7 separate regions of the Homo sapiens genome follow, and all the other regions are linked to region 7. The links are contacts of gene promoters, found by promoter capture Hi-C in blood cells and fetal thymus (Javierre and others, 2016). All regions are on one chromosome and are shown on one strand. Each heading gives the region's core, a stretch centred on a gene start or on the middle of the fragment in contact. The rest is flanking DNA. Distances are from core to core; before and after follow the strand shown.

Region 1 (3,484 bases), core at 715-3,214, 320 kb before region 7:
TGAAAGTCATACTGTTTCTTGGTTCATTGAATTAATATTTATGGTCTTTGCATGGGATGCCCCTCCCATCTTCTTCACCTGGCCAGCTCCCACTGATCTTTGAGACTTAGGGAGGGCACTGTTTCCTAGAGAAAAACTTGGAGGCACTTTGGGAGGCTGAGGTGAGAGGATTGCCTGAGCCCGGGAGTTCAAGATCAGCTTGGGCAACATAACAAGAGAAAAAACTATCTATGAGAAAAAACTAGGCGTGATGGTGAGTTCCTGTGGTCCCAGCTACTCAGAGGCTGAGGCAGGAGGATCTTTTGAGCCCAAGAGTTCAAGGTTACAGTGAGCTATGATCATGCTTCTGCACCACAGCCTGGGCAACAGAGCAAGATCCTATCTCAAAAAAAAAAAAAAAAAAAAAAAAAGGCCGGGCGTGGTGGCTCATGCTTGTAATCCCAGCACTTTGGGAGGCTGAAGCGGGCAAATCACGAGGTCTGGAGACCGAGATCATCCTGGCTAACACGATGAAACCCCGTCTCTACTAAAAAAAAAAAAAAACACAAAAAATTATACGGGCGTGGTGGCAGGCGCCTGTAGTCCCAGCTACTCGGGAGGCTGAAGCAGGAGAATGGCGTGAACCCAGGAGGTGGAGCTTGCAGTGAGCCGAGATTGCGCCACTGCACTCCAGCCTGGGCGACAAAGCGAGACTCCGTTTCAAAAAAAAAAGAAAAGAAAAGAAAAGAAAATCTTGGAGGAACTCATATTTCAGTCTGAGCCTCTGTGCTCCTCGGCACCCTGGACAGATATCTATTTTATCATAGTTCTTATATTTCTCTGATCTTCCATTATAAGCTTACCAGGCTGTCCCTTAAAACTAGATCATGAGCTCCTTAAGGACTGAAATTGTTCTCTTTCTGTTGTTAAAGCAACTTCTCCAACAAGTTGACTACAAGCATATAACAGAGATTTTCCCAAATTTTTCACCAGGGAGGAAATTTTTCCAAAACTCCGATTCAAGTATGTCTCTCTTATAGAGAGGGGGAAAAAAGAACTATAAATATCTGATTATTTAATTAAAATAATATCTAGTTAGCTCCCAACTAATGGTCAACTAGGAGAAAAAGCAATCTTGTTGTTGTTGTTGTTGAATCAGAGTCTCACTCTGTCGCCCAGGCTGGAGTGCAGTGGTACGATCTCAGCTCACCACAACCTCCGCCTCCCAGGTTCAAGCAATTCTCCTGCCTCAGCCTCCCAAGTAGCTGGAATTACAGATGCCTGCCACCATGCCAAGCTAATTTTTGTATTTTTAGAAGAGACAAGGTTTCACCATGTTGGCCAGGCTGGTCTCGAACTCCTGACTTCAGTTGATCCACCCCCTTCAGCCTCCCAAAGTGCTGGGATTACAGGCGTGGACCACCACACCCAGCCTGAAGTATTTTTATCAGTTATACTGATAGTATCCCAAAAGAAGGTAACATATTACATCATGCAAAACTTTCTGCCCCACAGCTCTGTCTCAGTGCCCAGCAGGATGTTACATGAGTAGACACTCATAAGTATTTGAATGAATGGAAGATGCATCAAAGTACTTAGTTATAAAAATTCCAGTATATTTAAAAGATAATGTTTACTACCCCCTTTACAATGAAAATCTTGTGTTTTTAAAATATCTGATTTTAAGCTATGCAAATTACATGTTAATTGTTCACCTAGTGCATGATGCACAATTACCTGCTCTGCCCTCTAACAATATGAGTGACTCCTTGGTAATTGTTGATGCTAATTTAGGAAAGTAACCAGGATTCAAACTCTCCTTCCAATATATTTCCACATATTTTTTAATGAGATATAGCAACTGTGTGAAACTTATAAAGATTCTCCAGGATTTGAAAGAAGCAATGGAAGAATAGAAGAAAATGGTAATACCATTTTCTTGGTCCTACCATGACTAAATTTCACAGATCCATGATTATTGGACACTATTTTTAAAACTACATTATAATATTTGACCTATGAGGATATGAATAGGGTGACCAAATAATATCTCATCAAAATCAGGAAGATTAAACAATTGTTTAAACCAGAGGTTATGATTTTTAATATGATTACTTGCTAAAAGCAATTGTACCATTATATCTTCTTCTCAAAGTTGGGATTTTCACTCATCCAAACAACCTCCATTACTATAGTAAAGAGTAAAATACTTCTGTAAACATCTTAATGATCATTAAGATCAGGAAGTCTCATCGTGGTGACTCCTAGTTAATAACCCATCAATTACCTATCAACTCACATTAAAATATCGTATCAACAAAACAAATTTTTTTATGGTAGATGGAATAATGTTCCCCCCAAAGACATTGACATCTTAACCCCTAAATCTTGTGAATATATGATCTTATATGGCAAAAGGAACATTGCAAATGTGATTAAGTTAAGGACGTTGAGATGAGGAGATCATCCTGCTTTATCAAGGTGGGCCCAATGTAATCACAAGTGTCCTAACAGGAGGGAGGCAGGAGGATCAGGGTCAGAGAAGGGCATGTGGCAATGACAGCAGAAGTCAGAGAGAGAGGTTGAAGATGCTATACTGCTGGCTTTGAGAATGGAGGAAGGGGCCAAGAGCCAAGGAACATAGGCAGCCTTTAGAAGCTGAAAAAGGCAAGGAAGTTTCTTCTCCCATGCAGCTCCAGAATGAGTCATCCCTGCTGACACCTTGACTTTAGCCTTCTGTGACTGATGTTGAACTCTTGACCATCAAAACCACAAAGTAACAAATTATTTGTTGTCTTGAGCCACTAAATTTGTGGTAACTTATTACAGCAGTAACAGAAAATTAATATATTAATTTCAAAATTGTTGCAAATTAGACAACATGCTTAGCACTGGGGACACTAAAATAAGTAAAATGTAGCCTGTGCTATCAATGTTTTTGTTATTTTCATTTGATGATTAGTATGTGTCAATCATCAAACCTCAAGAAATATATATCATATGGCCTGAAATCAATAGAGGAAAACAAGGAAAATGCCCAGGGAGAAGAGCAGTTTTGACTTGATAGTAGAATTTAAATTCTTACATACAAATCTATATAGATGAAAGCTTAAAAAGGATTATTATCAAATTGTATAACTGCCATGTTAAAGAACAGGAATGAAACATAAATTTAAAACAACTAGCCATGGCTGGGCATAGTGGCTCATGCCTATAATCCCAGCACTTTAGGAGGCCGAGGCGGGTAGATTGCTTGAGGTCAGGAGTTTAAGACCAGCCTGGCCAACATGGTGAAACCCTGTCTCTACTAAAATTATAAAAATTAGCCAGGTGTGGGTGGGGGCATGCCCCTGTAATTCCAGCTATTCAGGAGGCTGAGGCAGGAGAATAGCTTTAACCCGGGAGGTCAAGGTTGCAGTGAGCAGAGATGGTGCCATTGCACTCCAACCTAGGAGACACAGTGAGACTCTGTCACCAGCCAAATGACATTACTTTCTAATAATCC
Region 2 (3,722 bases), core at 316-2,815, 420 kb before region 7:
TTATGAATCCCCCTACCACATCTATATCCATTGAGATATTTTCTAAGTTAAAGCACAGAAGATTTATCAGTCTTCAACATACAAGAACCTCACACATTTATCTCTCAAGTGTCATGATGGTGGACTTTCACAAGGCCTAAAAGCTTTCCACAGACTTTGAATTGTGCTTTTATTTTTATACCTTTCCTATATTGAAAAACAAATAATAGAAAGAAAAAGCTAACTCTGTAAGGGAGGGAATACAGCTGATACCCAGTTTGGGCCACCTAGAATGCATCAGAATTAATGATAACTTGGTCTGACAGCATCCTTACCACAAGAGATGAAGTCACCCTAGGAAGTGTTGTAGGGGAAAATAAAATCAACAGAGTGAAAAAGAAAAAAAAAACTATAAAGTCTGAAATATATGTTGTCCAAGTATTTTCCCTCCATTAATTTTGGAAGCCCTTGAGTGTTTTCAGGGAAATTTAATCTGCATGTTTCTGAACCATTTACACTTAACTCACCACAATGTTGCTCTGTAACAGTCATTTGTTGTCCAAGAAACGCTCTGAACCTTGTTCATAAAGATTTTTATTAAAGCAATTGTTTTCTTTTCCCTTAAAATGAAATTATGCTTTTCTGAATTGAAGGGAACATTGAAATGAACCCTAAACTCAAAACTTGTGTGGCACAAATAATAGATCCACTTTTGATCAAAGTGTGTCACCATTCAGATTTCCAACCCAAGGTACTTTGGTTTTGGCAGCATCACAATTAAAGGTTCAGTTGAAAAGACACAGGTTTATTACTCCTTGGATAGCTAAAGTGAGCCCTCTCAGGCCTCTTTTAAAAGCAAGACTTTTAATGAACTTGGCCTGTCTAATAATCAGCTCTGCTTTAGACCCAACTGGAATGAAGCTCTGAACCAGAGTGTGAGAAGTGAGACAATGGAAGTAGCAGAGATGATTCATGATGTTAAGGACTTTATAGTCCAAGGGACTAAACAATAAAATGAAGGCAAACATTGCTCCTACCTCATAGGATTGCAGTAGAGATTAAATGAGATTATCGTATAAGGTGTTTAGCATTTCCAAGAACATAGTAAGACCTCAATATATTTTAACTCCAATAATAATTTATCTTTACAAGTGTTTGTATTGACAATCAGACTCTAAACCAGGCACCTCTAGACAATACACTTAAATAAGACCACTCGACAAGAATGCTCACTCATGCATTTACTCATTCGCCAGCTCCAAAAACCCTTGTGAGAATGAATGACTCCTAGTTCAAAAAGTATTTTTGTACTGAATTTCATGTCATGATTGAAAGCCTAGCTAGAATACTACCATGAGAAAAGCCATTATTGCATTATAAGAATCCGAATGAGTCTGGCTCATGAATCAGCTGATTTAATGTGTACTATATATCAAAAGATTTTGTGAATTTGTTTTGTGTCGTTTAATCTTTAATACCAATGAAGAGTATTTGAAGAGCCCTTTGTTAAATCAGCTACAGAACTTTAATGTATTTTACTCTTATTATATTTGTGATGGTTAGTTTTATGTATCAATTTGGCTAGAGAATAGCTTAGAGTTACCTAATCAAATGCTAATGTAGGTGCTGCCATGAAAGTATTTTGTAGATAGAACAGCTACAATTATAGGTTGGTGCGAAAGTAATTGCGGTTTTTGCCATTGAAAGTCATGGCAGATAACCTAATAATAGTTAACTTTAAGTGAAGACTACCTTCAATAATGTGAGTGGACCTCATCCAATCAGTTTAGAGTCTTAAGAACAATTACTGAGGTTTCTTAGAGAAAAATATATTCTGCCTCAAGACTCCAACAATTCCTGTCCCTGTGTCCAGCCCTCAGACGTGCCAGCTCCCACAATCTGATACAATATCTATTGATCTTTTAAAATGCTAACATTTTTAAAAATCAGAGTAAAGGCACGATCTGGAAAGTAATAAGCTGTTTTGTCTAGTAATTTCTGTAGTAACCTAAATTGTTTCACTTGCCCTCTGGAGGAAGTAGCATTGTCTTTGCTGCCTGCCTATCACCCTTGTGACTTAAGGGTGTACAGGTTTGCCTACCTTACTTGTTGCACAGTGTTACCAGGTAGAGCATGATACATCACTTATTCAACCAATGAACGTTTATTGAAGGTCTACTCTGTACCATGTACTCATCTATACACTGTGGGTTATGGTGGGGGAAGGCAAGGAGGAGGTGGGACAATGAGTCAACAAATAACTAAATAAAATATATATAAAATGATGGTAAGTCCTTTGGTGAGAAACAAATTAGGAGAAAAGATAGGTAATGCTAGAGGAAGGGTATAATTTTAAATAGGTTGGTCAGTGAAGGCATTCCTAAAAATATGACCTTTGAGCAAAGCCAAGGTGTCAATTATGCTATTTAATATTGGTAAATATTTATATTTTAAAATAACAGAAGAACCGGATTCAAAATGGCTTGAGCAATAAGAAAGCTATGTTTTCACATAATAGTAATAATGGCCAGGTGCGGTGGCTCATGCCTGTAATCCCAGCACTGTGGGAGGCCAAGGCGGGCAGATCACGAGATCAGGAGATCAAGACCATCCTGGCTAACATGGTTAAACCCCATCTTTACTAAAAGTACAAAAAATTAGCTGGATGTGGTGGCACGCGCTTGTAGTCCCAGCTACTCGGGAGGCTGAGGCAGGAGAATCACTTGAACCTGGGAGGCGGAGATTGCAGTGAGCCAAGATCACGCCACTGCACTCCAGCCTGGGTGACAGAATGAGACTCTCTCAAAAAAAAATAGGAATAATAAGAATAGCTAACATTTATTGAGTGTCTACTATATGCCAACCACTCTTCTAAGCACTTTGCATATATTAATTCACAACAGCCAGCTAAGCTAGGTCTATTCACTAACGGGGTGACCAAGATTCAGAGAAATTAAGAATTTTCCAAAAGTTATGGAATCGATATATGGCATAGCTCTGCAAGCTTGTCCTCAGCTCAGATTCTCACTCATCAGGAGGAAGACGAGTTCCAGGTACAAAGGATCAAGGCTCTGTCTAATGTCTTCAGTATCTCTCCTACCTGGTATTGCTTTCATCTTTAGATGTAGTGAGGTGTCTACAGTATTTCCATGGGCCACACCTAGATACAAAAAAGGAGATCTTTCTTCTCTTCCTGAGAAGAAGGTAGTGTTCCCAGGAGACACCAGCATACTCCCCTCCACAGAGCAAAGGCTAGCAGTGGGTCACAAGCCCATCCCTAAACCAACCACTACAAAGAGGAATGAAATTAACAGGTTCGGGTCAAAGTAATTCCTTGGAGGAGAGGATGGGATGTTGGGGATTCAAACACAAAGACTACTCCAGTGTTGTAATAAGGGTGTGTTTATGATGTTCTCATCAGCCAGGCCCAGTAAGAGAGGAGAGTAGGCACCAAACCTTTCATAGCTGGAGTGCATGGCTGTATGTAACTGTCCTAGGAGAATCTAAATATTTCATTCACTTGATCCTGTTAGCAGATCTCGACATGAATCCAAGGGTAGGCAGAAGATATGGTCACATAGAAAAGACCACAGCTCCCCTTTGGGACACACCCTGCAAATTCTGTTTTTCATCCTCAAGATTTCAGTGTTGAGCCATTTTAGAGTATATGCTTTTTCCCTACATCACCAGGGATATTGACTGAAAGGAAGGCTGTTCATTTGTTTTGACCTTGTACTTCAAAG
Region 3 (3,352 bases), core at 696-3,195, 460 kb before region 7:
AACATATTTTCAAACAAATTAGGTAATAGTTCACCATCTACAACCGATCTCTCCTGAAAAAATACAAGATTACAGGCATACTTCCACTACTGCTCCTCTGCCTAAAGTTGTGTTGAAATAATCTAAATTGTTTTTCCCAGGTTACCATATTGTTATTAATTTTATTTTGCATTATATTTTTTCAACTTACTGGCCAACAATTTTGTCTTATATTCTGAAAAATCTTCTTCTACTGACTGTATATAACTAATATGTATTTCATCTATGCTCATTCTGTTACTTGGCTTCTTTTCTTTAATTTTTGGGCACTGGTGACCAAACGATTAATATTTGAATTTCCTAAATTTAATTCTTATTCTTTGACTGGTTCTTTATCATTGCAGCCTGTTCTTATTTGGCTAAAACAGAGTTCTAAATTTTCCAATGTTACTTGGTAGAATTTTTATCCAGTTTCCTCTTTTGCATGCACAATTTCTGTTTCTTCCAGTTTCAATAATGTTTTTTCACTCTTTCTTATACGCAGTAGATTATTCTCAAATAAGTTTTCACTGTTCATTTAGATTTATGACTACAGTGATTAATAATGATAGTAATTTTCTCTGTAGTCCTAGAAGTATGTTTCAACAACATGCTGAAGGGAAAGAAGACTTCGTGGGTATGCTAATAGGCAGGCCCCAATTACCAAAATGAGAAAACCTTTTCTTTGGGAGTATAGTTTTTTAGAATATTTTATTTCTAAATAGAATTGAGTTTCCTTTGCCATTCTCTGAATCCTTTTGTATTTCTAAAATTATCTCAAGCTTCATCTTCATTTCTTTCCTGAGTCCCTCCAGTAGGCATACTAAGACTTTCCCAGATGATACATGATATTAATAATCATTATGAAGATGCATTTTCTCTAAAATATGTACTTTACTTGAATTATTTTATTTTATTCTCAAAACCACTCTATGAAGTTGAAACTTTTATTAAGCATGTTTTATAGATAACAAAACCTAGTCTAATGAAACCCATGGAGATTAAAGGCCTTGTCCAAGGTTACATACCTAGTAAAGAAGGATGGAGCCAGGATGTGGATTCAGACAGGCTGACTTAAACACAGGTCCACAATGCCTCTCTCTGATATGCTGTCACTCTTCTCTAATGTAGTGTGGGATATGGAATCCTCTTTAACCCTTGATCAGGTCACGGAGCATGGAGGAAAATTCCAGAAAGAAAGTCTGGCTGGAACAAAGAAATGGATTATAGGGAGGTATGCTTTAAGCTCTGAGGCATGGAATTTTTTTTATCTGAGAAGGCAGAGTTCTCATAATGGCTTACCCAGGCCACACTTTGGAGATTTAAGAGTCTGTGATAGCTCAGTTTCAGGCTGTTGTTGCTATGATTTATAACCAGGATTCAGTCCTTTGCATAGCGGTCATATGCCATTCTGTCCAGACTTTAGTGCTCAAAAGATTGCCCCTTGTCATTCCAACCCCAGTTAATAGGAAACACAAACCACCCTTGAGATGACAAACCTATCTTCTAACCATTGACTAGTTCAGCTCCTTAGCTCTGCAGAAGTTGAGCTTTCTATTTTTAGAGTTTGGCAAGGCAGAAGACATGCTGGGTGAGCTTTGTTTAAGGCCCCCCACCAGACTCTGCTTGCCACAAAATCCAGCCAAACATACCGTGTAGCAGGCCAATTAAGCTGCAGCTGTCTGTCAACTGAATCAAAGATGGGAGTGGACAACAAGGGGCTGTTTTTGCCACAGACAGTAAGCAGAACACAGGATTAACTTTCCTGCCCTTAAAGCTCTGTAGAGTAACCTGCCATTTATTCTATCTGTATAGTAAGAATCCTTGCTTTTTATTACAGGAGCTTGACCAAGCTACCTCTGGCAAAACAAAGGGATCTCACCTTAACTGTCCATGGCAGGGTTGGGGGTACGGGGCAGGTAGGTATCTGTTTTATAGGTCATCATAAGATACCTAGTATCAAACCTGGTATCAAAAAACCTGGTTGTGGGAAATGATTTTTTATCAAGAGTTGCCTCAAAGTTGTGAGAGGTGACAGCGTGCTGGCAGTCCTCATAGCCCTTGCTCGCTCTCGGCGCCTCCTCTGCCTGGGCTCCCACTTTGGCGGCACTTGAGGAGCCCTTCAGCCCACCGCTGCACTGTGGGAGGCCCTTTCTGGGCTGGCCAAGGCCGGAGCCTGCTCCCTCAGCTTGCAGGGAGGTGTGGAGGGAGAGGGGCCAGCCCCGGGGCTGCGCGCCGCGCTTGCGGGCCAGCTGGAGTTCCGGGTGGGCGTGGGCTTGGCGGGCCCCGCACTCGGAGCAGCCGGCCGGCCCTGCCGGCCCGGGGCAATGAGGGGCTTAGCACCGGGGCCAGTGGCTGCGGAGGGTGTACTGGGTCCCCCAGCAGTGCCAGCCCACCGGCGCTGCGCTCCATTTCTCGCCGGGCCTTAGCTGCCTTCCCGCAGGGCAGGGCTCGGGACCTGCAGCCCGCCATGCCTGAGCCTCCCACCCTCTCCGTGGGCTCCTGTGCGGCCCGAGCCTCCCCGATGAGCGCCGCCCCCTGCTCCACAGCGCCTAGTCCCATCGACCACCCAAGGGCTGAGGAGTGCGGGTGCACAGCGCGTGACTGGCAGGCAGCTCCAACTGCAGTCCTGGTGCGGGATCCACTGGGTGAAGCCAGCTGGACTCCTGAGTCTGGTGGGGATGAGGAGAACCTTTATGTCTAGCTCAGGGATTGTAAATACACCAATCAGCACTCTGTATCTAGCTCAAGGTTTGTAAACACACCAGTCAGCACCCCGTGTCTAGCTCAGGGTTTGTGAATGCACCAATCGACACTGTATCTAGCTACTCTGGTGGGGCCTTGGAGAACCTTTGTGTGGACCCTCTGTATCTAGCTAATCTGGTGGGGAAGTGGAGAACCTTTGTGTCTAGCTCAGAGATTGTAAACGCACCAATCAGCGCCCTGTCAAAACAGACCACTGGGCTCTACCAATCAGCAGGACGTGGGTGGGCCAGATAATAATAAAAGCAGGCTGCCCGAGCCAGCAGTGGCAACCCGCTGGGGTCCCCCTTCCACATTGTGGAAGCTTTGTTCTTTCGATGTTTGCAATAAATCTTTCCACTGTTCACTCTTTGAGTCCACACTGCCTTTATGAGCTGTAACACTCACCGCGAAGGTCTGCAGCTTCACTCCTGAAGCCAGCGACACCCACGAGCCCACCGGGAAGCCCAAACAACTCCAGACGCGCCGCCTTAAGAGCTGTAACACTCATGGCGAAGGTCTGCAGCTTCACTCCTGAGCCAGCGAGACCACGAACCCATCAGAAGGAAGAAACTGTGAACACATCTGAACA
Region 4 (3,586 bases), core at 1,049-3,548, 360 kb before region 7:
GGATACATTCAAGCTTTAAAACCTACCGGTGCCCAGGCTCCACTCCAAACTACTTAAATCAGAATCTCTCAGGGTGGGACCTAGGCAATAGAATTGCTTAAAGCTCTCCATGGCATTCTAGTGTGAAGCCAGAATTGAGATCCACTGGGATAACAGCAGATGGCTCCCCTTCACATAAGCCCAATCAGCCATGTTGTTCTGGATCCCAAGAGCACAAAAAAGCCTCACTACTCAAACTATGGGCCAAGAACCAATTACACTGGCATCACTTGGAGGTTTGGTTAAAATGCAGAGTCTGAGGCCACCCTTCAGACTTACCAAATCAGAATCTGCATTTTAACAAGTTCCCCAGGTGATTTGGAGGCACACTAATTTTGGAAAATGCTGAATGAAGGCAAAAATCCTGTTCTCAAGAAGCTTCCAGCCCATAGGGAAAATGCATATAAATACAGATAATTACAAAACATTGTGGAAGTTCCACAATGAGAAATGCACAAGTTATTCCAGCTGGACCTACCTCCAGGAAGATTAATGGAGTGGATGGTGCTGGTCAAAGATGTACACGATGAGTACAGGTTAATCAGAAAGAACAGGCAACAGCAAACAGCCCTGTTCTACTGGAATGTAAAGTAGACACAGATGGGAGCTGAGGCAGGCTGCACTTGCCCAGATCCTAAGGCAGCCATCTAGAGGCTGCAGGAGTCAAATCTTGTTCATCCCTCCTGCTCTGAAAGAGAATATACTTTCCAAGTCAGTGGTCCTCAAATTGGTCAAGGTGAAGTTTCCTCACAAATGTGCCTTGGAAATGAAAGGAAACAATTACATTAAGTTTTACATACACAATAAATATATACAGTTTTTATTTGTCAATTAAGATAAATAAAAATAAAGATAATCCTACACATATATTTACTCCTTCGTATTGCCTTAGATCCTTCCTATGAACAAAGCTAGGCACATTAGTCCCCAAACAAATCACCAACATGGCCAATACAAGGCCACATTAAGAATACAAAGATGAACTGCTAAAAGAGTGGATCCTCCTAACCCCCATACAGGAGGATTTTTGCCTTGACTCTTTACTCTCCTTCCTTTGTTTTCATGAGCACTCAATGGAAAGCAATACTTAACATGTTCTATTGCAGATAGATATATCCTGCAACATTTCATTTCATGAAATTTGGAGCCATAAAGAAAACCTGTCTCCTTCGTTCATTTTCTCCCAGAAGTTTGGAGTCTTGGACTCCTGAGGGGGAAAATGTTACAGTGGGTACCTAGTCAGGCATGAGCAGGGCAGGGGAGGGCTTCCCTACCACACACACCAGAGCATTGGGCCCAGTTACATTAATTTTTAAGTAGTGAAAAAATGAATGGGCTTGCTAAGCCCATTCCTAAATATTTCCTTATGCTACCTGTGTTAGTCAGGGCTGCCATAACAGAATGTCACAGGCTGGGTGGCTTAAACAACAGAGTTTTATTTCTTACAGTTCTGGAGGCCGGAAGTCCAAGATCAAGGCACCAACAGAGTTGGATTCTGGTGAGGACTCTCTTTCTGTCCTGCAGACAGCTGCCTTCTCTCTGTCCTCACATGGGCTTTCCTCCATGCATGTATGGGGGTGGGGGGTGGGGGGTGGGGGGGTCAGGGGGTGAGAGAGAGAGAGAGAGAGAGAATCTGATGTCTCTTATAAGGTCCTCGGTATTACTGGATTAGGGCCGCCCTAGCAGACTAATACACCACCCGTCACCATTCTCAAGGGACCATCAATGAAAAGGTTATGAGGCTTTAAAAAACATACGTGTTTCCTCCAGCCCCACCCAAATCAGATCCCCAAATCTGTATCTACTCACCCACCTACTCGTTTATCTTACCATTCATCTATTAATCCATTCATTTCTTTATACATTTAACCAAACTTTATTGAGTTTGTGCCAGGCACTGTGCTTGTGTTGGAAATACAGTTATCTGTCCTGTCCTCAATGAATTAGAAATTAGATATGTTCACTGATACATATGTAATTAATTTTTAATTACACAAGGAACACACAAATATGGTCTTCTTTAAAAAGTCATAACCAATAAATTTAAACTCCTCTTTAACATCAACTCAATCACTAGAGTTAGCTCTGTTAGGACTTTTAAATCTATGTTATTTAATATTTTCAAACTTATGTATATGTACCCATAGAAACTGCTACTATAAGTGTCAATCAATACTTACATTTTTCATGCAACAATATGTATTTTTAGCTCTATCTATTGTCATTATATAAATAACCAGTATATTATTTTTAACTTTTGTGGAATACTATGTCTTGTGAATCCAATTATTGGCTATCCTACTATTTGTGGATTGTTTACTTCACCATTATTCCAGAGAACGTCCTTTTACCTATATTATTGCCCACATGTGCAAGTGTAGGCTGGATATTAAAAAAGGGGAAGTCTTAGGTAGATGCATTTCTCATTTTAATGACTACTGCTATGTAGCCCTCTGAAGTGGCATATTATGATATACTCTACATTATAGTCTCATCAGCAATGTATTGGAGTATCTAGTTCTCCACAAACTTCCCAGTTCTTTTTTTTTTTTCTTTTTTTTTGAGACAGGGTCTCACTCTGTTGCCCCAGCTGAAGTGCAGTGGCTCACTGCAGCCTTCGCCTCCAGGGTTCAAGTGATCCTCCCTCCTTAGCCTCCCAAATAGCTGGGATCACAAGCATGCACCACCATGCCTGGCTAATTTTTGTATTTTTAGTAGAGACACGGTTTCACCATGTTGCCCAGGCTGGTCTCAAACTCCTGACCTCAAGTGATCCACCGGTCTTGACCTCCCAAAGTGCTGGGATTACAGTTGTGAGCCATCACACTCAGCCTCTTCCCAGTTCTTATTGTACTTTGTATTTTATTTATATATTTGTTTGTTGCCTATTTAATGGGTAAAAATTATGTCTTATTCATTGTTTTATTTTACGGTTTTCTAGTTAGTACTTAAATTGAGCATCTTTTCATGTTTTGTTGGCCGGCTGTATTTCCTCTTCTGTGTCTTGCCTATTGTAGACTTTGCCTATTTCTTTCTATTTGGATGTCTGTCATCGCAATTTTGTACTGGTTTGTAGATATTCTTTATATTTTTAAGGTACAAATATTTTTGTATGTGAAAAAAAAAGTCTTCTCCCAGTCTGTTGCTTGTATTTTATCTTTTTTTTTTTTTTTTTTTTTTTTTTTGAGACGGAGTCTCGCTCTGTCGCCCAGGCCGGACTGCGGACTGCAGTGGCGCAATCTCGGCTCACTGCAAGCTCCGCCTCCCGGGGTTCACGCCATTCTCCTGCCTCAGCCTCCCGAGTAGCTGGGACTACAGGCGCCCGCCACCGCGCCCGGCTAATTTTTTGTACTTTTAGTAGAGACGGGGTTTCACCTTGTTAGCCAGGATGGTCTCGATCTCCTGACCTCATGATCCGCCCGCCTCGGCCTCCCAAAGTGCTGGGATTACAGGCGTGAGCCACCGCGCCCGGCCGCTTGTATTTTATCTTTACTTATGATGTCTTTTTGTTATATAGAAGTTTTCTTTCTCTTTTATGATATGGTCA
Region 5 (3,659 bases), core at 848-3,347, 380 kb before region 7:
GGATTCATTGATTTTTTTGAAGGGTTTTTCCTGTCTCTATCTCCTTCAGTTCAGCTCTGATCTTAGGTATTTCTTGTCTTCTGCTAGGTTTTGAATTTGTTTGATCTTGCTTCTCTAGTTCTTTTACTTTTGATGTCAGGGTGTTGATTTTAGATCTTTCCCCCTTTTTCCTGTGGACATTTAGTGCTATAAATTTCCTTCTAAACACTGCTTTACTTGTCTCCTGGAGATTCTGGTATGTCATGTCTTTGTTCTCATTGGTTTCAAAGAACTTACTTATTTCTGCCTTCATTTCGTTATTTACCCAGTAGTCATTCAGGAGCAGGTTGTTCAGTTTCCATGTAGTTGTGCACTTTTGAGTAAGTTTTTTCATTTGTTTGTTTGTTTGTTTGAGACGGAGTCTCACTCTGTCACCCAGGCTGGAGTGCAGTGGCGCAATCTCCAGTCACTGCAACCTCCGCCTTCTGGGTTCAAGCAGTTCTCCTTCTTCAGCCTCCCAAGCAGCTGGGATCACAGGCACCCACCACCACACCTGGCTAATTTTTGTATTTTTAATAGAGACACGTTTTCACCACGTTGGCCACGCTTGAGTGGCTTTCTTAATTCTGAGTTCTAATTTGATTGCACTGTGGTCTGAGAGACCATTTGTTATGATTTCCATTCCTTTACATTTGCTGAGGAGTGTTTTACTTCCAATTAGGTAGTCAATTTTAGAATAAGTGATATGTGGTGCTGAGAAGAATGCATATTCTGTTGATTTGGGGTGGAGAGTTCTGCAGATGTCTATTAGGTCTGCTTGGTCCAGAGCTGAGTTCAAGTCCTGGATATCCTCGTTAATTTTCTGTCTCAGTGATCTGTCTAATATTGACAGTGGGGTGTTAAAGTCTCCCACTCATTGTGTGGGAGTCTAAGTCTCTTTGCAGGTCTCTAAGAACTTGCTTTATGAATCTGGGTGCTCCTGTATTGGGTGCATATATATATTTAGGATACTCACCTCTTCTTGTTGCATTGATCCCTTTACCATTATGTAATGCCCTTCTTTCTTTCTTTTGATCTTTGTTGGTTTAAAGTCTGTTTTATCAGAGACTAGGATTGCAACCCCTGCTTTTTTTTTGCTTTCCATTTGCTTCACAAATCTTCCTCCATCCCTTTATTTTGAGCCTATGTGAGACTTTGGACGTGAGATGGGTCTCCTGAATACAGCACACTGATGGGTCTTGACCCTTTAACCAATTTCCCGGTCTGTGTCTTTTAATTGGGGCATTTAGCCCATTTACATTTAAGGTTAATATTGTTATGTGTGAATTTGACCCATCATTATGATGCTAGCTGGTTATTCTGCTTATTAGTTGATGCAGTTTCTTCATAGTGTCAATGGTCTTTACATTTTGGTATGTTTTTGCAGTGACTGGTACTGGTTTTTCCTTTCCATATTCAGTACTTCCTTCAGGAGCTCTTGTACGGCAGGCCTGGTGCTGACAAAATCCCTCAGCATTTGCTTGTCTAAAGGATTTTATTTCTCCTTCACTTATGAAGCTTAGTTTGACTGGATATGAAATTCTGGGTTGAAAATTATTTTCTTTAAGAACGTTGAATATTGGCCCCCACTCTCTTCTGGCTTGTAGGTTCTCTGCAGAGAGATCTACTGTTAGTCAGATGGGCTTCCCTTTGTGGGTAACCCAACCTTTCTCTCTGGCTGCCCTTAACATTTTTTCCTTTATTTCAACCTTGGTGAATCTGACTATTATGTGTTTTGGGGTTACTATTCTCAAGTAGTATCTTTGTGGTATTCTCTGTATTTTCTGAATTTGAATGTTGGCCTGTCTTGCTAGGTTGGGGAAGTTCTCCTGGATAATATCCTGAAGAGTGTTTTTCAACTTGGTTCCCTTCTCCCCATCACTTTCAGGTACAACAATCAAATGTAGATTTGGTCTTTTCAGCTAGTCTCATATTTCTTGAAGTTTTTGCTTGTTACTTTTTATTCTTTTTTCTCTAATCTTGCCTTCACACTTTATTTCATTCAGTTGACCTTCAATCTCTGATATCCTTTCTTCCACTTGATCTATTTGGCTATCAATACTTGTGTATGATTCACGGAGTTTTCGTGCTGTGCTTTTCAGCTCCATCAGGTCATTTACGTTTTTCTCTAAACTGGTTATTCTAGTTAGCAATTTCTGTAACCTTTCATCAAGGTTCTTAGCTTTCTTGCATTGGGTTAGAACATGCTCCTTCAGCTTGGAGGAGTTTGTTATTACCTACCTTCTGAAGCCTACTTCTGTCAATTCGTGAAACACATTCTCCATCCAGTTTTGTTCCCTTGCTGGCAAGGAGTTGTAATCTTTTGGAGGAGAAGAAACAATCTGGTTTTTGACATTTTCAGCCTTTTTGCACTGGCTTTTCCTCACCTTTTTGGATTTATCTACCTTTGGTGTTTGATGTTGATGACCTTCGGATGGGATTTTTGCATGGTAATCCTTTTTGTTGATGTTGATGCTATTGCTTTCTGTTTGTTAGTTTTCCTTCTAACAGTAGGCCCCTCTTCTGCAGGTCTGCTGGAGTGTGCTGGGGGTACACTCCAGACCCTGTTTGCCTGTGTATCACCAGCAGAGGCTGCAGAACAGCAAAGATTGCTGTCTGCTCCTTCCTCTGGAAGCTTCATCCCAGAGGGGCACCCACTGGATGCCAGCCAGAGCTCTCCTGTATGAGGTGTCTGTCTACTTCTTCTGTGAGGTGTCTCCCCATCAGGAGGTATGGGGGTCAGGGACCCACTTGAGGAGGCAGTCTGTCCCTTAGCAGAGCTTGAGCGCTGTGCTGGAAGATCCACTGCTCTTTTCAGGGCCATCAGGCAGGAAAGTTTAAGTCTGCAGAAGCCACGCTCACAGCCGCCCCTTCCCCCAGGTGCTCTGACCCAGGGAGATGGGAGTTTTATCTATAAGCCCCTGACTGGGGATGCTGCCTTTCTTTCAGAGATGCCCTGCCCAAAGAGGAATCTAGAGAGGCAGTCTGGCTACAGTGGCTTTGCAGTGCTGCAGTGGGCTCAGCCCAGTCAGAACTTCCTGGCGGCTTTGTTTACACTATGAGGGGAAGACTGCCTACTCAAGCCTCAGTAATGGTGGACGTCCCTCCCCCCATCAAGCTTGAGCATCCCAGGTTGACTTCAGACTGCCGTGCTGGCAGCAAGAATTTCAAGCCCATGGATCTTAGCTTGTTGGGCTCCATGGGTGTGGGATCTGCTGAGCTAGACCACTTGGCTCCCTGGCTTCAGCACCCTTTTCAGGGGATTGAACAGATCTGTCTTGCTGGTGTTCTGGGTACCACTGAAATGAAAAAACAACAACAACAAAAAAAAACCTCCTGCAGCTAGCTCAGTGTCTGCCCAAATGGCTACCCAGTTTTGTGCTTGAAACCCAGGGCCCTGGTGGTGTAGGCACCCTAGGGAATCTCCTGGTCTGTGGGTTTCGAAGACTGTGGGAAAAGTGTAGTATCTGGGCTCAAATGCACCATTCCTCACAGCACAGTCCCTTGGGGCTTCTCTTGGCTAGGGGAGGGAGTTCGCTGACCCCTTGCACTTCCCAGGTGAGGTGATGCCCCACCCTGCTTCAGCTCGCCCTCTATGCACTGCACCCACTGTCTAACCAGTCCCAATGAGATGAACTGGG
Region 6 (3,237 bases), core at 575-3,074, 400 kb before region 7:
CCAAGCAGCCTGACATGTGAATTTTAACATAAGGTACTTGCAGTTGTGAATTAATGAATGACCTTCTTATATTTAGAGCCAGTGTTCATCTGCTAGTTTAATTCTGTGCTAGACAGAGGCTTAATAAGTACTTACTTAATGAATTAATTAATTAAAATATTTCCATTTCTAAGCTGCTGATCTGTTGTGGCTACCCTTTATTTCTCTGTGGCAAGAAGGTTTTTAATTTTTTTTTTTAATTTTTAAATATGTGAGTGAGTGAGAGTAAAGTACTGAGGCTGATTCCACAAACCATGCAAAAAAAATTGTCTTTAGTATTTGCCAATGGCCATTCCTTAAATGATAGACTAACAAATCACTGAATCATGCCCTTTTGCTGTGATAAGGAGATATAGAGATGAAAATTATCTTTTCAGTTTTTCATTTAAAAAATAATCCCTACATTTATCCAGGAGGTTGATTTGTTTTGAAAGAACACCATAAAATTTAGATGTAGAAATTAAGATTACTCATCTTTCTGGTGAACTGAAGACACTAAAACAAGTCCTGTATACTTAGGTAGGACCATATACATCAATTGATAAACAAATAAAATAAATATTTTAAACTCCATATTGCCTTCACAGAACCTAGGCCTGTAACGTATTCACTAAGCAAACTACTGTTTAATTATTGCCTTACTCTGCATACCTTACTCTGCATATGCCAAAAATAGGCTGCATGTTTTAGGCTGTGTGGCAAGTAGAATGACCAATGTTTCTATTTCCCAGGGCTGTGGCAACAGCCCAGTATTTAGATAGCTGCTTCCTTGCCAACAGAACACAAGAGAGCATAAATTTACTACCAAACATAGATGCCAGGGAAACAAGGAAACCCTGAGGTCAATGCCCTAGCCCATGTAGGAAATTTTATTCTTTGGGTGAGTATAAAGAGTTCAGCAAAAAAGGTCAGAGAGGAGTAAGGAGGTATGCCAATTTCAGTAGCTTGTTTAACTACTTTGGGATTCCATTAGCCTACCTATTAAGATAACTTAGTAAAGCTTATTCATCTCAACTTTATTTCCAAGGACAAAAGGCATGACATTTTGAGTCAAGCAAGGCTGGACTGAGTTTTGTAACAACTTACTATTTGAGCGAACCTAGGCAAATCTCCAATATTGGTTTCTCCATCATAAAATAAGACTACTAAAAATACCAATTTCAGAGGATTGTTACTGTAGGATTTGCAAGATAATAATGTAAAACAACACAGTGTCTGACATTAGTATGCACTCAAATGTGAGCTATAACTTTTGTAGCAACAACTGTTTGAATACTTACTATGAGCAAAACTTTGTGCTAGAAAACTCTGATAGACATAAGGATAAATTAGACATATTTCCTCCCTGCCAGGAGCTTAGATTCTAACAGATGAGATAAGAGGAAGTTATAAACTCCAAGACAGCAAAGACTTTATGTTTCTCATTCACCTTTCTATATCTAGCACTGACAACAGTTTCTGGTATATAGTTGGTATACAACAAATTTTATATATATATAACTTTCTACTAGGTAAAAGTAGTAGATTATATATTATACTTATTTATATATAGTATATACTATAAAAAGTAGTAGATTACAGGTGGCTAGATCAATTTTTATATATAAATCTATCTATAATCTACTACTTTTACCTAGTAGAAAGTGCTAAAGTGAATAGGAGAAATAAAGAGAAAATATAGGTATATAAGTAAGAATCAGGACTGTGTAAGAATTTATCCATAGTTTCTCATCTGTAAAAGGATGGTAATTACACTTGCCCTGCTTCCCTCATACAGGTTATTGCAGAGTTCAAATTAAGAGTATGCTTACCTGGAGGCCAGGCGTGGTGGCTCATGCCTGTAATCCCAGCACTACGGGAGGCCGAGGCGGGCGGATCACAAGGTCAGGATATCGAGACCATCCTGGCTAACACGGTGAAACCCCGCCTCTACTAAAAAATACAAAAAATTAGCCGGGCGTGGTGGCGGGCGCCTGTAGTCCCAGCTACTCTGGAGGCTGAGGCAGGAGAATGGCGTCAACCCGGGAGGCGGAGCTTGCAGGGAGCCGAGATTGCGCCCCTGCACTCCAGCCTGGTCGACAGAGCGAGACTCTGCCTCAAAAAAAAAAGAAAAAAAAGAAGAAGAGTATGCTTACCTGAAGTCAGTAGATGGATGAGGCAGGTAGAAAAAGGACAATGAATTAATCCATATAAAATTAATGACGTTTGCCAAGAGTCGTGTAGTGCTTACTATGTGCTAGAGACAGTTCTAAACATTTCACGTGTTAGCTAATTTAATCCTTGCAACAACTCTGTGAGATAGGCCTTATTATCCTCATATTGCAGAAAGGGAAACTGAGGCACGGATAGGTTAAATAACATGCCCAAGGTCATGTAGGTAGTAAGCCACATAAGTCGGATTAAGCAAAGGGATTCTTGTCTCCCAACCAGTGCAGCCAGGAGCTCAGACTTTGCTGTTATTTTGACTTATTGGAAAATGCTGGTCCTTTCCAATCAAGAGCCTCTGAATCCTCCGTCTCTGTCCCTCTCTTTCTAGCAACCCTCTCCAACGCTTTCTACCACAAGCTTAATTTTATTATTTTGACTGCTTGCTAGGAGGAGGAGGAAGAGGAAGAGTGAGCTATAAATATCCCTTCCTAAGTGCCCCCCAAAGTGAAACCACCTGCGCCTGTGTGAGGTAGCAGGAGAAGCAGAGAGCCTCAACTGTGGAGAGAGGTTTGCATCCCATCATTCAACGGAGTGTTTTAGAGACCTCCTGCCGGGCTGACTGCTGCGAAGGGGAGTAAAGTAAACAAGCCACAATGAATGGTGTCACTACAGGGTTTTATCATCTACCTGCTTGATTATGTCAGTAAGAACTCAAAAGCAAGTTCTGGGCAGATAAAGCATCCTGAGAAAGCTGAGCTTTGGGTTTACTGAGCCCCCAGCTATCGAGCACCTTTTGGGGTTATGGGGCACTCAGGCACTTATTAGGGATAGCCTGTTTGCTCTCACTATATCCTTGGGTATGGAAACATTCTGCAAACTGGAAATAGAACAAATATTCCTGCGACCAACTAATAATAGAGGAAAGGCATCAGTGGGGTCAGGCTGTCTTTTCAACTGGAAGAGCAAGTACATTTCCATTCTGCAGGTGTCTGGGTGCAGCCCTTTTATACATCCTAAAAGAAAACTTGCCAAGATTACAGAGTAAATCAG
Region 7 (3,382 bases), core at 752-3,251:
CCCATAATAAATCTCTTTACATATCTATCCAATGGGTTCCATTTCTCTGGAGAATGCTGACTAACACAGATCCCCTTCGATCAAGCACGAGCCCTGAGTTGGCCATGGTCCTACCTGTCATAATGAGAGAACTCTTCTCATTTGTGTTATGGGTCCTGGAGGCATTTGATTATTGGTCTGGTCATTCACAGGAAACCCATGTAGAAACAGCAAGCATACCTAGGAAAACTAGGAGAGAATTCCCAGAGTTCTAAGGGCTTATAGAAGTGCAGTGTCAATGAATGCAGGATTGAACCAAGCTGGAGAGAGGGAGGCTGGCCTGCAGAAGAAGATATCCTTTACTGGTACCTGAATTGGCTCCTGCCAAGTTTATCTCTGCTGATGAGGAAGCTTTGCCTCTAGTTTCTCTCCTGAGAAGGGAGAGTTTCAATCAACCTTGGCTTTTCATAAAGGACTTGGGGCTGCTGGCTGAATAGCCTGTGTGTTGGGGTTCACCCATGGGGATTTTCAAGGAGGCCTGAATCTTCTGATCCATCCAATCTCTCATTTTACACTTGAAGAAACTGAGGCTGAGAAAGGGGAAGTGACTTGGCCAAGGCCACACAGCAAGGTCAAGATCCAAGACTAAAACCAATTGCTTCTCTGTTTTGCTTATTACTACAGCACAGAAATAAAGAAATAGAGAATGGGAGAGGAGAGGTAGGTGTGGGGAGGCGATATGAAAACATGGAACAAGTGCTCTGCTTTTAGAATAACTAGAACTTTGAGCCCAGAAGATTTCTTTTCTTTTAATAAATAAATGTTTTATAATCTTACTTCTGTGGCTGGTGGGAAAAAAAGTCCTTCAAGTCCCCAAGGAATGTTAGGAAAACCTCCATTAAATTCTAGTCTTCAAATCTGAGTCATAATAACTATAATAAACTCTGGGAGTGTTTCCTTAGAGTTTCTCTTTTAGGGTGGAGAGGAGGCAGCAAAAAGAATAGGCAAGTTTTCACAAGAAAAACTTGTAAATAGGCAAGTATAACAAGAAAATGTATAAACCGGGATGGCTTCATAATTAGGCATAGCCTAATTGTGCTTATGTGTCTAGTCAAGAAACTCTATCTAGAGTTCCAGGGGAAGAAGGTGTTGGGGATGAGGGAGTAGGATTGGTTTGAGGGTAGTAGACTATATAAGGCATCATGCTCCTTCCCATGGAGGGGATGTATGATGGTTAATATTAGGTGTCAACTTGATTAGATTGAAGGATGCAAACTATTGTTCCTGGATGTGTCTGTGAGGGTGTTGCCAAAGATATTAACTTTTGAGTCAGTGGACTGGGAGAGGCAGACCCACCCTCAATCTGGGCGGGCACCATCTAATCAGCTGCCAGCACAGCCAGAATAAAAGCACACAGAGGAACATGGAAGGAGTAGACTTGCTGAGTCTTCCAGCCTTCATCATTCTCTCGTGCTGGATACTTCCTGCCCTCGAACAACAGACTCCAAGTTCTTCAGCTTTTGGACTCTTGGATTTACACCAGCAGTTTGCCGGGGGCTCTGGGGCCTTCAGAAGGCTGCACTGTCAGCTTCCCTACTTTTGAGGTTTGGGGACTCGGACTGGCTTCCCTGCTCTTCGGCTTGCAGACAGCCTATTGTGGGACTTCACCTTGTGCTCATGCAAGTCAATACTACTTAATAAGCTCCCCCTCATTTATACATCTATCCTGTTAGTTCTGTCCCTCTAGAGAAACCTGACTAATATAGCATGTGTATGTGCTTTTCCCTTTGCTTGGAATGCTTGTCCCCACTCTGACCCTAAGCACCACCACAACCTTCCTTCCTGGAGCTCAGGCTGTTATCCTCCAGGGCTCTGCTGATTCCCTGGGCACCCCGCACTCTGCTTCACAGCACTCATCACATTTGTCACTTGTGTAATTTGTTGCTTATCCCAGGCTTCCGTATTACATGATAAGCTCCATTAATGACAGTGTTGTCTGCCTTGGTTTTGTTCATGATGAGCACAGTGCCTGGCCCACAGTACCAGCTCACTAAGTATTTAGCAAAGGGCTTTATGAGGTCATCCCTGGCTCCAGCACCTCACAATCTTTATGGTGACTGTTCAGAGGGCAGCTAAGCAGAAAAGAAGTTTTCAACAAGGCTGTTTCTGGCCTGTTTTCCCTCTCAGTACTACATGGCAAGTCACGTCTCCAAACTGAGGAGTGTGCCTGAAGAGTCAGGTCTGGCAGAGAAAGGATTTCTTGCCCTAGGTTTAAACAAGCAATGTCAACATAACTTCCAAAGGCATCGGCTGCTTGGAAGAAGTGAATCCCTTGGGTCATTCCCTTGATTATTGTGAACCCGTGGCTGAGCAGGACAGAAATGTCACACAGGTGGACTGAGAACAAAATGATTTCAGATATGGGAGCCCCAAAGTGGCATCCCAAGGACAAGTGCTCAGAATTGCATGACTTGGTTTTCTGTTGAGCTATTCTGTCTTGGATAATTACAGCATGAGCTCTTGGCCAGTGGTGGGAATTAATTGGTTTTAATTCTCCCGCAAAGATTCTCTTAAGTAAAAGTAAAACATTTGCAAACTGGAGTTCTTTGAGTTATTGGTAACAACTTACTTTGCACCTCATAGCACACTGGTTAATAGCCTCCGCCAAATAACTAATATTTAGGCACTTTGCTAATGTATGCAAAGTGCTTTTAAGTATTATGCTATTAAATCTTCACAACATCACAGGTAGGTATTAGCACCATCTTACCTATTTTATGGATATCCAAACAGAGGTCTTCAAAAGTTAGAAAATCTGCACAGTCACAGAGCCAGTGGAGCCACAGCTGAGGCATGGACAGGCTGCTCTCCTACCACCTGCCAGGCCGCTCTTGCCCAGCTCATGAGGTCCAAAGTTTTCTCAACAAACTGCTTGGTGTCGATGTTGTAACCTGGAGCATTGCCCTGCAGCAGAAAGGCAGGCCTGGACATTCGCATGTCAGCATGGGGCGAAGCTGATAATTTCCAGTTGGGATCCAAGAAAAAGAAAAGCTCTCCACATGCCAACAACATTGTTATGAAGCTCTCTTGACCCAGCTACCCAACAGTGATCTCAAACATTTGGTCTCTCCAGTGTGTGTATGGGGGTGGGGGGCAGCTGGGCGTGTAGCCTTGTACACTTTGCACTTGGAGAGGTAGGGACAGGGGTCTAAATTAAGGGAAACCCTGCCCAGGGGCTGGCTTTGGGAAGCATGCCCAGCAGCCATGTGGAAGTTCACTGCATTACGGTGAATTACACCAGGTGGGGTGAGTACAGGACAAGGAAGTAGAAGTCAGAGCCTGCTTTTCAAAATCACCCTGCAGGCTGTTGTCCCCAGAAGAAGAGATCAACCTCAGGGGAGAC

The links. The method cuts DNA at HindIII sites, captures the fragments that hold promoters and counts their contacts. A CHiCAGO score of 5 or more calls a contact.
Region 1: a contact is called between a fragment that was not itself captured here and the fragment with the promoter of LINC01352 in region 7, in 1 of 17 cell types (neutrophils). The highest score is 5.3, in neutrophils.
Region 2: a contact is called between a fragment that was not itself captured here and the fragment with the promoter of LINC01352 in region 7, in 1 of 17 cell types (neutrophils). The highest score is 6.3, in neutrophils.
Region 3: a fragment that was not itself captured here is called in contact with the fragment with the promoter of LINC01352 in region 7 in 1 of 17 cell types (neutrophils); the score reaches 5.2 in neutrophils.
Region 4: a contact is called between a fragment that was not itself captured here and the fragment with the promoter of LINC01352 in region 7, in 1 of 17 cell types (neutrophils). The highest score is 8.1, in neutrophils.
Region 5: a contact is called between a fragment that was not itself captured here and the fragment with the promoter of LINC01352 in region 7, in 1 of 17 cell types (neutrophils). The highest score is 6.2, in neutrophils.
Region 6: a fragment that was not itself captured here is called in contact with the fragment with the promoter of LINC01352 in region 7 in 3 of 17 cell types (neutrophils, monocytes and M0 macrophages); the score reaches 14.5 in neutrophils.

Annotation. Positions count from the first base shown.
Region 1 is chr1:221,150,406-221,153,889 of GRCh38, reverse strand. No RefSeq gene overlaps it. Among named protein-coding and RNA genes, the nearest start is that of LINC02817, 180 kb to the left of the region's middle. The HindIII fragment of the contact is 2,250 bases long and covers 840-3,089 here.
Region 2 is chr1:221,247,679-221,251,400 of GRCh38, reverse strand. No RefSeq gene overlaps it. Among named protein-coding and RNA genes, the nearest start is that of LINC02817, 87 kb to the left of the region's middle. The HindIII fragment of the contact is 2,840 bases long and covers 146-2,985 here.
Region 3 is chr1:221,284,911-221,288,262 of GRCh38, reverse strand. No RefSeq gene overlaps it. Among named protein-coding and RNA genes, the nearest start is that of LINC02817, 50 kb to the left of the region's middle. The HindIII fragment of the contact is 2,285 bases long and covers 803-3,087 here.
Region 4 is chr1:221,189,327-221,192,912 of GRCh38, reverse strand. No RefSeq gene overlaps it. Among named protein-coding and RNA genes, the nearest start is that of LINC02817, 150 kb to the left of the region's middle. The HindIII fragment of the contact is 3,757 bases long and covers 420-3,586 here.
Region 5 is chr1:221,206,681-221,210,339 of GRCh38, reverse strand. No RefSeq gene overlaps it. Among named protein-coding and RNA genes, the nearest start is that of LINC02817, 130 kb to the left of the region's middle. The HindIII fragment of the contact is 1,117 bases long and covers 1,539-2,655 here.
Region 6 is chr1:221,228,374-221,231,610 of GRCh38, reverse strand. No RefSeq gene overlaps it. Among named protein-coding and RNA genes, the nearest start is that of LINC02817, 110 kb to the left of the region's middle. The HindIII fragment of the contact is 1,565 bases long and covers 1,042-2,606 here.
Region 7 is chr1:220,827,874-220,831,255 of GRCh38, reverse strand. It overlaps LINC01352 (long intergenic non-protein coding RNA 1352), which reads right to left and starts at 2,001. Exons shown (of 4, transcript NR_110797.1): 1 at 1,814-2,001; 2 at 349-563; 3 at 1-114. The HindIII fragment of the contact is 6,544 bases long and covers 393-3,382 here.